Linked DNA regions of Homo sapiens: all the other regions are linked to region 1. The links are contacts of gene promoters, found by promoter capture Hi-C in human tissues and cell types (Jung and others, 2019). All regions are on one chromosome and are shown on one strand. The core of a region is centred on a gene start or on the middle of the fragment in contact, and the rest is flanking DNA. Distances in the headings are between cores, read along the strand shown.

What was found. The method cuts DNA at HindIII sites, captures the fragments that hold promoters and counts their contacts. A contact is called where the count stands out against the background at its distance.
Region 2: a fragment that was not itself captured here is called in contact with the fragment with the promoter of PTGIS in region 1 in 2 of the 25 tissues and cell types used here (IMR-90 fibroblasts and liver).
Region 3: a fragment that was not itself captured here is called in contact with the fragment with the promoter of PTGIS in region 1 in 1 of the 25 tissues and cell types used here (lymphoblastoid cells).

Annotation. Positions count from the first base shown.
Region 1 is chr20:49,566,479-49,570,345 of GRCh38, forward strand. PTGIS (prostaglandin I2 synthase) reads right to left here and starts at 1,659. Exons shown (of 10, transcript NM_000961.4): 1 at 1,565-1,659. The coding sequence starts at 1,638. LOC101927486 (a long non-coding RNA gene) reads left to right here and starts at 1,566. Exons shown (of 2, transcript XR_244188.4): 1 at 1,566-1,695. RefSeq lists enhancers at 1,959-2,575, 2,576-3,190. The HindIII fragment of the contact is 24,721 bases long and covers 1-3,867 here.
Region 2 is chr20:49,408,658-49,412,857 of GRCh38, forward strand. All of the region lies in intron 1 of KCNB1 (potassium voltage-gated channel subfamily B member 1), which reads right to left. All of the region lies in intron 2 of LOC105372649 (a long non-coding RNA gene), which reads left to right. Among named protein-coding and RNA genes, the nearest start is that of KCNB1, 72 kb to the right of the region's middle. The HindIII fragment of the contact is 8,489 bases long and covers 1-4,200 here.
Region 3 is chr20:49,364,405-49,368,146 of GRCh38, forward strand. KCNB1 (potassium voltage-gated channel subfamily B member 1) reads right to left here. Exons shown (of 2, transcript NM_004975.4): 2 at 1-3,742. The region is part of intron 2 of LOC105372649 (a long non-coding RNA gene); the gene reads left to right. Among named protein-coding and RNA genes, the nearest start is that of SNORD12, 86 kb to the left of the region's middle. The HindIII fragment of the contact is 6,282 bases long and covers 1-3,742 here.

The DNA of each region.
Region 1 (3,867 bases), core at 409-2,908:
ACTGTCTTTTTCTTTTCTTGTTTTAAGGCAAATGATTGACTACACAGTTGTAAATTTCAGCTGAAAAGATGTCTGGAGGTTGAAGAAAAATACAGTGAGCTTATTGTTTGAAAATTCAACTACCATATTGTTTAAAAATCAAAAAGTTCCCAAGGTTTCCGGAATTTTCAGACACGAATGTAAACTAACTCTCTCTTACGTGGCTCTGTATTAGCTACAAGCTCATGTCTATGTATGTAAGAGTAATTTTTATGTAAGAGTAATTTTTAAAACATCTGGGAGACTGAGGAGGTATGAAAACTAAAGGCAATGTGGTAACTTGGGGCCGGATCCTGGAACAAAAGAGGACAGTAATGGGAAACTGGATAAAATCCCGTGAAGTTTGAAGTTTAGTTAAGAGTAACGGACCAGTGTTGGTTTTTAGTGGCGACAAATGTCCCATAACAATGTAAGATGTTAACAATAGGGAAAACGGGGTGAGAGAAATACAGGAACTTTTTGTACTATCTTTGCAACTTTCTGTAAATCCCAAACTAGTCTCAAATAAAAAGTATATTTTTTTAAATATGGAAGGTTCTACCCAGACTCAGCAACAGGAGAGGCCCAGAGAGGGAGAGAGGACTAGACTTCAGGGGCTGGGGGAGGGTTAAGGGGCTTCGGTCTTACCTATAACAGGATAAATATTTGTGTTAAGTCGAATGTATTCAGCTATTCCTTATGCAATTCAAGTTAACTTAAAAAATATTTTATGAAAAGGAGAGCTACAGCTATCTCCTTGATTTGAGGCTGTCTTTACTTTTTCTCCTAAATCACAGATGCTCAATGGAGCTGGAAAACCTTTGGGACCAGGAGGCTGTGACATCTGACCCTGGCTCCGTTCTGTCCAGGCTGTGGGACCTCAGGGGAAGGTAGAGACTTCATAGGCCTCAGTTTCTCCCTGGCAAATGAAATTACTAAGCCCACCGACCCCCGTCTTCCAGACGGGGAATCCCGGGGTGGGTGGTTCCAGGGCATGATCAAGACATCCCCCAGGGGCTCTACACTCCGCTGGCTCAACACTCCCATCTGTGTAATGGGTTGAGGAGCGAGGCTATCCCTATAGGACTGCCGAAAGCAAGGCAGGGTTTGACAGCGCGTAGGTGGGTGCCAGGTGCAGGCAGAGGCTGGAGAGTGGAGAGCGCTTCTTCCACCCGGGCCACGCAGAGGCTGTCCCCGCACGGCTCCCCACCCACAAACCCTCGGTCCTCACCTGAAACCCCCTCCTAGGTCCCTGCCGTCGCGCTAAGGGCCAGACTCGGACTTGTCGCGGTGGGCGATTCGCCCCGGGGGACCTACCGGACCCCGCACCTTCCCACCTTGCACCTTCTTGGCAGGGGGAGCACGGCCTGGCCCCCTCACCCACGTGCGGGGCCCCGGGACTCCCACCTCCGAGGGTCTCGCCTTGCCCGGGATACTGGAGCGGGACTCGGGCCGGGCCGGCCGCGGGCTCCGAGACCCTTGGGCTGCAGCCCGGGCGGGAGCCGCCCCCTTTGTCTGGCGGGGCCGAGCGGAGCAGGACACTCACCGCGTGCGGCGGCGGCTCAGTAGCAGCAGCAGCAACAGTGCGGCCAGGAGGCCGAGGAGCGCGGCCCAAGCCATCGCGGGGCTGGCGGGGCTGGCGGGGCTGGCGGGGCTGGCGGCCTGGCCCACTCCCAGGTAAAGTTCCCCGCCCCCACCCGGCGCGCCCCTCCCACTCCGCCCACCCCAGCCCGCTTTGGGGCGGGGTGGGGGGGGTGGGGGATGGGGCCCTCCGAGGTCCGCAGGGGTCGGACCGGGGCGCTCTGTTAGAAACCCTGCTCCCCCCAGCTCAGGCCTGATGGAAAATGTGGGAGGGAGGGGAGGGGAGAAGGAGGGGGAGGGGGAGGGGGCGGAAGGGATGTGGTGGGCTGGGGAGTGATCAAGGGGAAAGGAGATAGATGGGGGACTGAGGGGGATGTGGTGGACTGGGGGGTGATGGAAGGGAGGGGAGAGGGAGAGGATTTACAGGAAGGAAGAGATTATATGCGGGGAGGGAAGAGGGATGGGGAAGATGGGAGAGGACTTTTGGGGAAGGGAAGAGGAGGGAATGTGGGAAGACGGCGGGACGATGGGGAAACAGCCAAGGAGGTATGGGGAGGAGGGGGCACAGTGGGAGGAGAAAATGTGGTGGGAGGGGACGAACATGGAGGAGGAGTGTAAGGGGGTCAGGAGGAGCTTTCCCACCACATTCCACATTCCACCTAGACAGAGGAAACCCCCCAAGGCTCCTCCTCACCCCATCCCCCACCCCAGGCGTGCTGGGGACCTGGAGTTTTCCATTCTGTGGTCTGGGCTGGGAGGGCTGGTCTGGATTATATCGCACCCTATAGTATCTTCAGTAACTACTGGGCAGGGGGTACAAGGGTGTCTCAGGGAGTCCCCTCATCCTCACCTGCTTTGGGGACAGATAGTGCCCGTGAAGTATGCACCCTCTACCTGGTGCACGTTAGGGCCTCCGGATGTGGTGGCCATTGTCATCGCTACCTGGTGCTTGGGGTGCCAGCCCCCTGTGCCCGCGGCTCTGCAATGTACCACCCCAGGGTGCTGATGAGAACTGGGGGTCAATCCAGCCTCACTCCACGCCCCTGCCCCCACCATCCCCATTCCCACCCTGGGAAGCGTTGGGCAGGTAGCTCAACCTCTCTGAGCTCACCTCATTATCTGGAAACAGGGAGGGCAGAGTTGTGCTTACCTCTGGGGCTGTTGTGAGGAAGTGATGAGAGCTTGACACTAAAAGGAATCACAAACTGTTGAGTGCTTGGCACACTAAGTTTTATGAAACCATGGGCTGAACCTGGAGGTAAGACCCAGGAGGTCTTGTTCTAGTCCTGTATCCACCCATTCAGTGCCGGGTGAGCTTAGGCACGTTTCATTCCATAGTCCCAGCAGAGCTCTGGAGAAGCTGTTGCTCCTCCTGGTCTCCTGGCTTCCATCCTTATCAGCCAGGGTCCTGACAAGGCCCTTCGAGAACCAGCATGATCCGCCCCTTCTCACCTTTACCTGCCTGACCCTATGCCCCCGACTCTCTCCCTCACCCACTCTGCTCCAGCCACACTGATCTCCCCATCTTTCCCTAGAGGTCCCACTGCAGGGCCTTTGCACGTGCTGTTCCCTCTGTTCGGAGCATTCTTCGCACAGCCTGCTCTTTCCACCACCTCCCCGGTGCCTCTATCTCTGCTCAGCTGTCACTGCAGAGAAGCTGTCTTTGGCCACCTGGTCTAAAACAGTCATCTCCTCTTACTGATTTTTGTTTCTTTGTTTTTTTGATAGTTTTTTTTTCTGGCAGTACTTCACATGTCCTGCTATCATACTCAAGATTCATTCATTTGCCTGCTTAATGTTGGCTGTCGAGGCAGCTGGATGACCCCCTTGTGGCCTCAGCAGATTCAGAACAGCAGGAGGCAAAAGGAGTTTTCTGATCCTCTTGTTTATTTTTCCAGCTTATCTGCCAGAGAAGCCAACAATCCCAAGAAGGCCATAGAACGGGTCCAGAGGATTTTCTCCAAATTTGGGGAGCTCCAAAGGGCTGTCTGCTAGCAGTGGGGTTCACAGCTGGGCTTGGCCGATCCTCAGCTTTGTGACCCCAAGCAGACTGCTCCACCTCCCTAAGCTGAGGTTCCTCATTGACAGAATGGGGAAAAGAGAACCTCATGGAGTTGAGGTCAGGAACAAACGACCTGGTCCATGGGGCACACCTATGTGAGTGCCTGTCACACCATGAGCATCAGGGAAAGTTAACCGCAATTAGCGCTTATACCAGTTCCGCTCCTCTCCATTATCTGTGATCAGGCTTGGTCTCAATTTTCCCAT
Region 2 (4,200 bases), core at 154-2,653, 160 kb before region 1:
TCTCCCAGGGTGATGTGCTGCGGTCTCAGAAGGACTCTCTGACAATGTCACACGAGGGAGGATGGGAGAATGGTATGAATGGTGGGAACTGAGGTGGCAGCCACAACACAATGGTGGGAAAAACAGGCTCCGCACTGGGTTCCAGCATTGGAGCTTCATGCTAGACCCAGGACAAATTCCTTCACCGCTCCAAGCCTTGCTTTCCCCATCTGCAGTGGGAGACAGTGAGACTTCCTTAATCGTGGAACTGTGAATATTTAATGGGAACGCGGATGTGGAGGGCTGGCCCAGGGCTTGTTCAATGAGGGGACCTGGGGTGGCCACTAGCTCCTGGGCCTGTGGAGGCAGGGGATGCTCTGGTGGATTCCAGAAGATGACAGTGGGCTCTCCTCTCTGGAGGGTGGACGAAGGCAAGCGCCTCTCTGACTGCCTTGCTTTATCCTTGGAGAATTCTCCCCAGTGCCCCTCTGTCCACTCTCATGCCACAGTTATCACCCCAAGCCTTTAACCAGCAGTCCCCTGGGTGCTGAGTACGTAACCAAGAGGGGAGTCCTGAGCCGCCATTCAGCCCTTCTCTGGCTTGGACACACTCCACGTTGCATGTCCATTCGGTTGCATGTCCTGAGTGCTTTCTGTGTGCCAGGCACTGTGCTGGGCTCTGGGAGTCACTGTCCCCAAGACAGCAGAGGAGCCAACAAACAGATGAAATGGCAGGGAGGGAGTTAGTGGGCGATGGAGAGAGTGCCAATGGGAGGGAGGCAGAGGGTTAAGAAAGCCCCTCTGAGGATGCCTGCTAAGCAGAGGTCTGAGGCCAAGCACTGTGGGGAAGAGGATACAGCGTGTGCAAAGGCCCTGAGATAGGAACGGTCGTGTTTGGGCACCAGAAAGGAGGCCAGTGTGGCCGGTGTGGAAGAAGCAAAGGAAAGAGTGGCCAGAGATGATAATGGAGAGGCAGGCGGGTGGCAGATCGGGCAGAGCTTTGAAGGCCGGGGTGAGGAACTTGCAATTTATTTTAAGGACCTAGAGGAAGAGGAGGCTCTGGGCCCTGGGTGGATGAGCTGCCTTACTTCTTGGAAGCACCAGGGCTCATGGGAGAACCTGACCGTCACTCAACCCCCGAAACCTGGCTGGCTTGTATGCAGCCTGTCCCCGCATCAGGAGGGGCCAAGCGACACCTCGCTGCACACAGCAGCCTCATTCCTGCCTCCCTACCTTTGCTCAGACAGGATCCCCTGCCTGGGGTGGCCTCTCCTCTCCCTGATTTGCCCACTCTTCCTCAGGAAACCTTCCCTGGCAGCTAGAGCCTATGGGGCCCTCCTCCTCCCAACCACTCTCCTGGTGTTGAAATCCACTGGGGTAGTTTGCTGTCAATGAAGATCCCAGGGTCTTCCACAGAGATAATGATTCAGGTGATCTGTGCTAGGACCCAGGAGTTCACATCTTTACAAACACTTCCACGTGATTCCTCTGTCCGGCATTGGAGAGACATAGCTGCTGGCATGTTTCCAGAGCTACTTCAGGCAACAGGGCACGCAGTATGTGTGAGGGGGAGAAGCAGGGGGCTCAGTGGAATCAGAAGGCCCTGGGTTCACATCTCAGCTTTAACACTTACCCAGCTGGGCGACTGTGGGCTAATCAGGCAGAGCTTTGAAGGCCAGGGTGAGGAGCTTCCACCACCTCTTAGAGCCTCAGTTTCTTTCTTTTTTTTTTTTTGGAGACAGAGTCTTGTTCTGTCACCCAAGCTGGAGTGCAGTGGTGTGAGCTTGGCTCACTGCAACCTCCACCTCCTGGGTTCACACCATTCTCCTGCCTCAGCCTCCTGAATAGCTGGGATTACAAGTGCCTGCCACCATGCCTGGCTAATTTTTGTGTTTTTAGTAGAGATGGGGTTTCACTATGTTCGCCAGGCTGGTCTGGAACTCCTGACCTCAGGTGATCCACCTGCCTTGGCCTGCCAAAGTGCTGGGATTATAGGCGTGAGCCACCGTGCCTGGCTGAGTCTCAGTTTCTTCATTTATAAGGTGGGGACAGTCACACTGACCTCAGAGTATTGTGAAAGGGATGACAAATATAATGTGCCTAACCCAAGAGGTTGCCCACAGTTGGTGCTTAATAGATGCAGCCTGGGGCCCACTCCACACTTGCTTCCCTAAGGGCCTGAATAAGGCAATGCTCTCTAAACCAGGGCTCAGCAAACTTTGTCTGTAAAAGGGTCAGAGAGTAAATATTTTAGGCTTTGGGGGCCGCATGATCTCTGTCACAACCCTTAAACTCTGCAGGGCAGCACAGACGCGGCCACAGATAAACAGAAATGAGTTTGTGAGTTATGGCTCTGTTCCAAAAACCCTGATGGTCCTAAAATTTAAATTTTATATGGTTTTCACATGTCACGAAACAATATTTTTCTTTGGATGTTTTTCAGCCACTTGAAAATGTAAAAACTGTTCTTAGCTTGAGGGCTGTACCAAAACAGGGGGTGGGCTAGATGTGGCCCACAGGCCCTGGATTGCTGGCCCCCGCTCCAGAGGCTTTACATGTCTTAGCTCATAGGACCCTGATGAGATAGGCAGCCCTATGTTCAGATGAAGAAACGGAGTCTCAGAGAGACTGGAATCCTCGGGCAAGGTTCCACAGCAGAAATAGTAGATATTTTAGTCTTTGTGCACCATTTGGTCTCTGTTGCAAGAGATAACTGTGAGATTTGAACTCAGGCAGAGCTGGGCTCAGAGCCCCTGTTATTAACCACAGTACACTGTCTCGTGGAAGCCACACAGGCCACAGATACACCACATTTCAGAACCAGTGACCTTATCTCTTAAAACCAGAATCTCTGCCTTCATATGAGCCTAGGTGGGAAAGGCTGGGCTGGTCAGGCAGGAAAGACAGTCTTTTGAGCTTAGAGGGTGGAGGGGGCTTCTAGGGCCATTGGCCACCTGAGCTGCAGCCCCGGGCACGCTTTGCAGTCCCCTTTCCTGCGCTGACCCTATCTGGTAGGGGTGAGCCTGCCTGAGTAATTAGGTCTGACTGCTGCAGGCCCGCTGAGGACTTCACGCTCCCAACATTCTCCTCCGTCTTATTCATGTTTGGTATTTTTATTACATTATTTTGACATGACATTCCCTAAGTGACATTCAGCTAAACTGTGTTTTTGTAGAATAGGGACTTGCCACTCTCTCGGCACTGCTGCATTCATGATGACAGCCACATGTCTGACATCTCCCCCAGGGTGCAATTACATGTTGACAAAAGAAAACTCTGAAAAAATTTAGTGTGGAAGGAAAAAGCTCAAGCTGCCTTAATTAATAAGTTAATTAATTTTCATTCATTTGTACTGTTGGCGATATAGTGGTGAACATGATAGTCAAGATTCCTTACCACAATGAAGCTTACTTTCTAGTAGGGGAGTCAGACAATAAACAAATAAACAAGGTAATAGCAGATTGTGATAAGTGCTATGAAGGAAAAAAAATACTGAGATGGGATATTAAGTGGGGCAGAATATGTCCCTGTTATCCAACCTCTCCTTTTCTTAGTGTTATAGATCCACTGATGTGCATTGGGAAACATACTGCCCAGAATAGAGACTGTTTCCCAGCCTCCCTTACAGCTAGGCATGGCCAATGGATATGGTAGAAGTGAGCAGATGCCTGGGGCCTTACGTGTCCACAGGCATAGAAGCGTGCGCCTGGCACTTGCTCTTTCCCTCTTCCACCAGCTAGAAATTCTCTCTCTCATACCTCTCTTATCTCTCTTTTCCTACTCTATCTATCTATCTGTCTACTTATGCACCATCTATATGTTCAGTAATCTGTCCATTTGTTCATCTGTTATCTATCCATCCATCCATCCATCCATCCATCCATCCATCCATCCATCCATTCGGCAAGCATTTATGGAGAGCCTGTGGCAGATTCTGGGGATGCAAAAACTAAATAAACTCAATCTATCCCCTCAAGAAGCCCAGAGCCCCTTCAGCAGAGTAAGCACCTAAGTTGCTTTATGAAACATAACAGAAATCATAGAGTTCAAATTCCACTCTGCCACTTTGCTCATATGACCTCAAGATAGTGACTTTTTACCCCTTTGAACCTTAACTTTCTCATGAATACAATGGAGATGATAATCTCTGCCTCTGAAGATTCGATGAGATCAGAAAGGTAGAGCACTTTTTAGAGAGCCTGGCACACAGCAGGCATTCAA
Region 3 (3,742 bases), core at 320-2,819, 200 kb before region 1:
TTAATATCCAGCTGGACTCCCATGGCTCAGGGAATGCAATCCAGTTTCCAGATGTTGGCTCCTATGTTTCTGCCCCAGGAAGTCCCAGACCAAAGGAAGTCCCAACTTCGAACCCTTGGCTTAGTCCATTGGAAAACCACTTGGTGGTCCCCCCCATGGGTCGTGTGTGAGCTAAAATAGAACATGAGGCTGAGAAATGCAGGGTAGGGGAAGAGGAAGGAGGGCAGAGCTGCTCTGTGGGCCCCCAGGAAGTGTGGCTCTGAGAGGGCTGTGGCCCTTATCAGCTTGGGGCCTACAAGCATCAAATTGAGATGTCATCTTGAGTCAAAGAAAGATGACCTTGATGGGGCAGTTATGGGTTTCAGTGGGAGAGGGGCTCCTCATTTTTCTTCTCTTCACAGTTAGGTAGGGATTCATTAACTCCCCCATTCACTCACACATTCACGCATCCAGTCATCCACTCAGAGGCCAACCAGTCACACATTCACTCACTCACAAAAACACAGGTTGGATGACCATCATGTGCCAGCGGCATAGGTTGGGGATAACCCTGAGTTCCTGGTGCAGAAAATAAGATTCTCAGTTTTTGACCTTGGATTGAGAAGGACCTATGAAATCAAGATAGACCTGGAGAATCCTCCCTGTCCCCACCCACTCAGGCACACTCAGCTCAACCAAGAGGGAGGCCCAAACCCCAGTGAAGCCCAAGGGGCAGAGCCAAGCTGTGGATATGTCAGAGTTTCTTGGGCATCTTCTCTGCTGCCTGCCTCTTTCCAATCTTGGTTCAGATCAGGGAAGCAGGAAGTATGGGAAGATCCCTGCATGGCCCCTTGAGGGCATCCTAATGGGACGGAATTGGGAGTTTCTTATATTTTCATGAAATATCCTATTTTTGTCTCCTTGTGTTGTTGCAACTTGAGTGATTCTGCAGGGCAGAGCCTCCAGTGAGGAGTTGGGAGGAATCTTGAAAACTGGTTTTTATTTTATTTTGGTTTCAGAGGAAGGCGGCTGCTCATTCTACCCATCCAAACATATCATCCTGCCCAACCTCATACTAAAACAACCAAAGACAAACCAGTCTTCGGTTCACCCTGAGGTTGAAGTCTCACTTTCTCCCAATCCACCATACATAAACCCTCTCTTGTCAAATGCTTTCCTTAGAGAATGCAGTATGCAGGATGATTTGGGATGGAGGCCACAGCTGCAGGAGAGTGGCATTCTGCTTGGAGGCAGCCAAGAGCCTGGTTTTGCTGTGAAACTGGATTAAAAGCTGCCTTTCTCTTTTGACCCTTCTGGATTTTTTTCATTGACGGGGACTTTCAAAGGTCTTGAGTGGGGTCTCTTATTTGATTTACCAAAAAAACAAGCCCTTTTGGAATGGAGCCATTTGCTATTGCCTGGGAAGTTGTTCATTGTGGGGATGGCTAGTGGGGAACAGATATCATTGCATCTTTTATACAGAAAGCCCCAGGCTCATGAGGGCACAGGAGCTGGGCGGAGGGGCTGAAGCACCATAAGACAGCCAGCCAGGGATGGGGGACAGCGTGGATTGCTCCTTGGCTGGCCTGGGGAAGGGTAGCATGAGTCTCATCCCAATGTGGTGCCTGGTAGGCCACTGGGGATGGGTTGGATTGGTGACTGACAGTCATTAAAATGTTCCAAGACGGAGCCGGAAGGAAGCAGACTTGTCTCTTGGACACCCCCTCTGAGAGCTCCAAAGCCCAGAAGTTGCATTCCTGCTAATTGTGCTGCATGCCTTTGCCTCAGTGGCTTGAGCTTATATCCAGAGTGTTGAAACCACCTACACACACACACACACACACACACACACACACACACACACACACTCCAAGAAACAAAGAGGAATTTCTGTGGTTGTTCAGCCCAGTTTCCATGCAATGCTAGGGCCCCTCTGCAATGCCCATTTTTTACACCATCTAGCCAGCCTCTCTTTAAACACCTGTGATATAAGGGAGCTCACTGTCCACCATGGCATTGAGCTCCATGGTCAGACAACCCAGCCTGTTAGGAGGGCTTCCTTAATTTGAGCTGCAATTGACCCCATCCCTTTCATACAATAGAAATTTTCGGAGAACTTGCATACAGCCAGCTGGCAGCTAAGTTTTTTTCTTCAGGTGCACTGCCCCACTCCACCCCATCCTGGCCAGCCTTTAGGAGATCTTTTCAGGATCTTTGGAGGGAGGAACAGAGAATTAGGTTTATAAGTGAAGATGAGGGTTCCCTCGATTAACAGAGCCCTACCCAAATTCAAGTTGGCATTTGGGGTAGTTCAGGAGAAATTCTAGGTTAAGATAAAATCAGGGAGAGTGGATGGAAATGCAAACTATATAACCTCTTTCTTGATGAAAACAGCAACAGCCATAGGCAACAGTGTTTGCTTATCTGGGCATCAAACCCAGGAAACTACTGGCAGACTTTTTTTTGTTTTGTTTTTTTGCTTTTGTGCAGAGGAAAAAAAAATCTTGTCTGTTTTATTTGACTCTGGTTCAAACCAGACTATCAGAGGTTTTCGGGGTGGGAGAACTCTGATCAGGGTCATAGTCCAGAATAATAAAATTCATATTTGAGTTGGCTTCCTCTTGGGAGTTATCTGATGGGATGGCTCACTGCCATCTGAGGGTCCCAGTTTGGCTCAAATTTCTGATTCTAGGCAGAGCCCCAAGCCCTGCAGCTGACAGTGAGGTGGGTGGTATACCAAAACCTAAACGAATGCAAGTTGGAGATTATCTGGGCTTTCTTCATCTTCCTGCATGAGTTGACGGATGGAGAATCACTTTCTGCTGAAGATCCTGCCTAGTGAGATGTCCTCCGCCCACCCAGGACTGAAAACTGCCTCTGGAATTAATTATCAGGACAGTCCAAAAACTCCCCCAGGCGTGGATAGGTGGAAGCTGGAAAACTGCCCCTGTCCTTGCCACACACCTCCTGCTCTATGGAGCCAGGCAGCTGGCAAGGGAAGGGGAGATGAGCTAGCAGATTCGGGGACATCTCTTCTCAGGGTTTGGCTGCAAGGGTGTCTGGCCACTGTTTTTTGGTGAAGCTGTTAGAAATGGATTGAAATGGACTGGGTGCAGTGGTGGCTCACACCTGTAATCCTAGCACTGGGAGGCCGAGGCAGGCAGATCACCTGAGGTCAGGAGTTCAAGACCAGCCTGGCCAACATGGAGAAACTCTGCCTCTACTAAAAATACAAAAATTAGCTGGGCGTGATGGTGCGCTCTTGTAATCCCAGTTACTCAGGAGGCTGAGACATGAGAATCACTTGAACCTGGGTGGAGGAGGTTGCAGTGAGCCGAGATTGCGCCATTGCACTGCAGCCTGGGCAACAGAGCAAGACTTTGTCTCAAAATAATAATAACAAAAAAATAAATAAATAAACAGATCGAAACAAGGAACTGATAAACAAGTTGGTGAGATCGGAGGCCCAGCATGTTCTTGTGAGGTTCACGAGAACCTGAAAAACCTCTGACCTTCAGCTCTGATTGATGTTACAGGCCGACAGGGTGCTGGACATGTGGGAGCAGCCCAGCCAGGAGGGACTCACATGTGTTCTGGATCTCAGAAATGCCAGTGATGAGTTTGCTTGCATGAGATTTTTGGTTCCAAGATCTCTGGGGATGAGAAAACTCAGTCCCTTCAGATCCCTAAAGGGGTGTGGGATATAAGTGAAACCAGCCCACATCCCATCCTGATTTTGAGGGCCATCTGTAGCTCTGCTTCC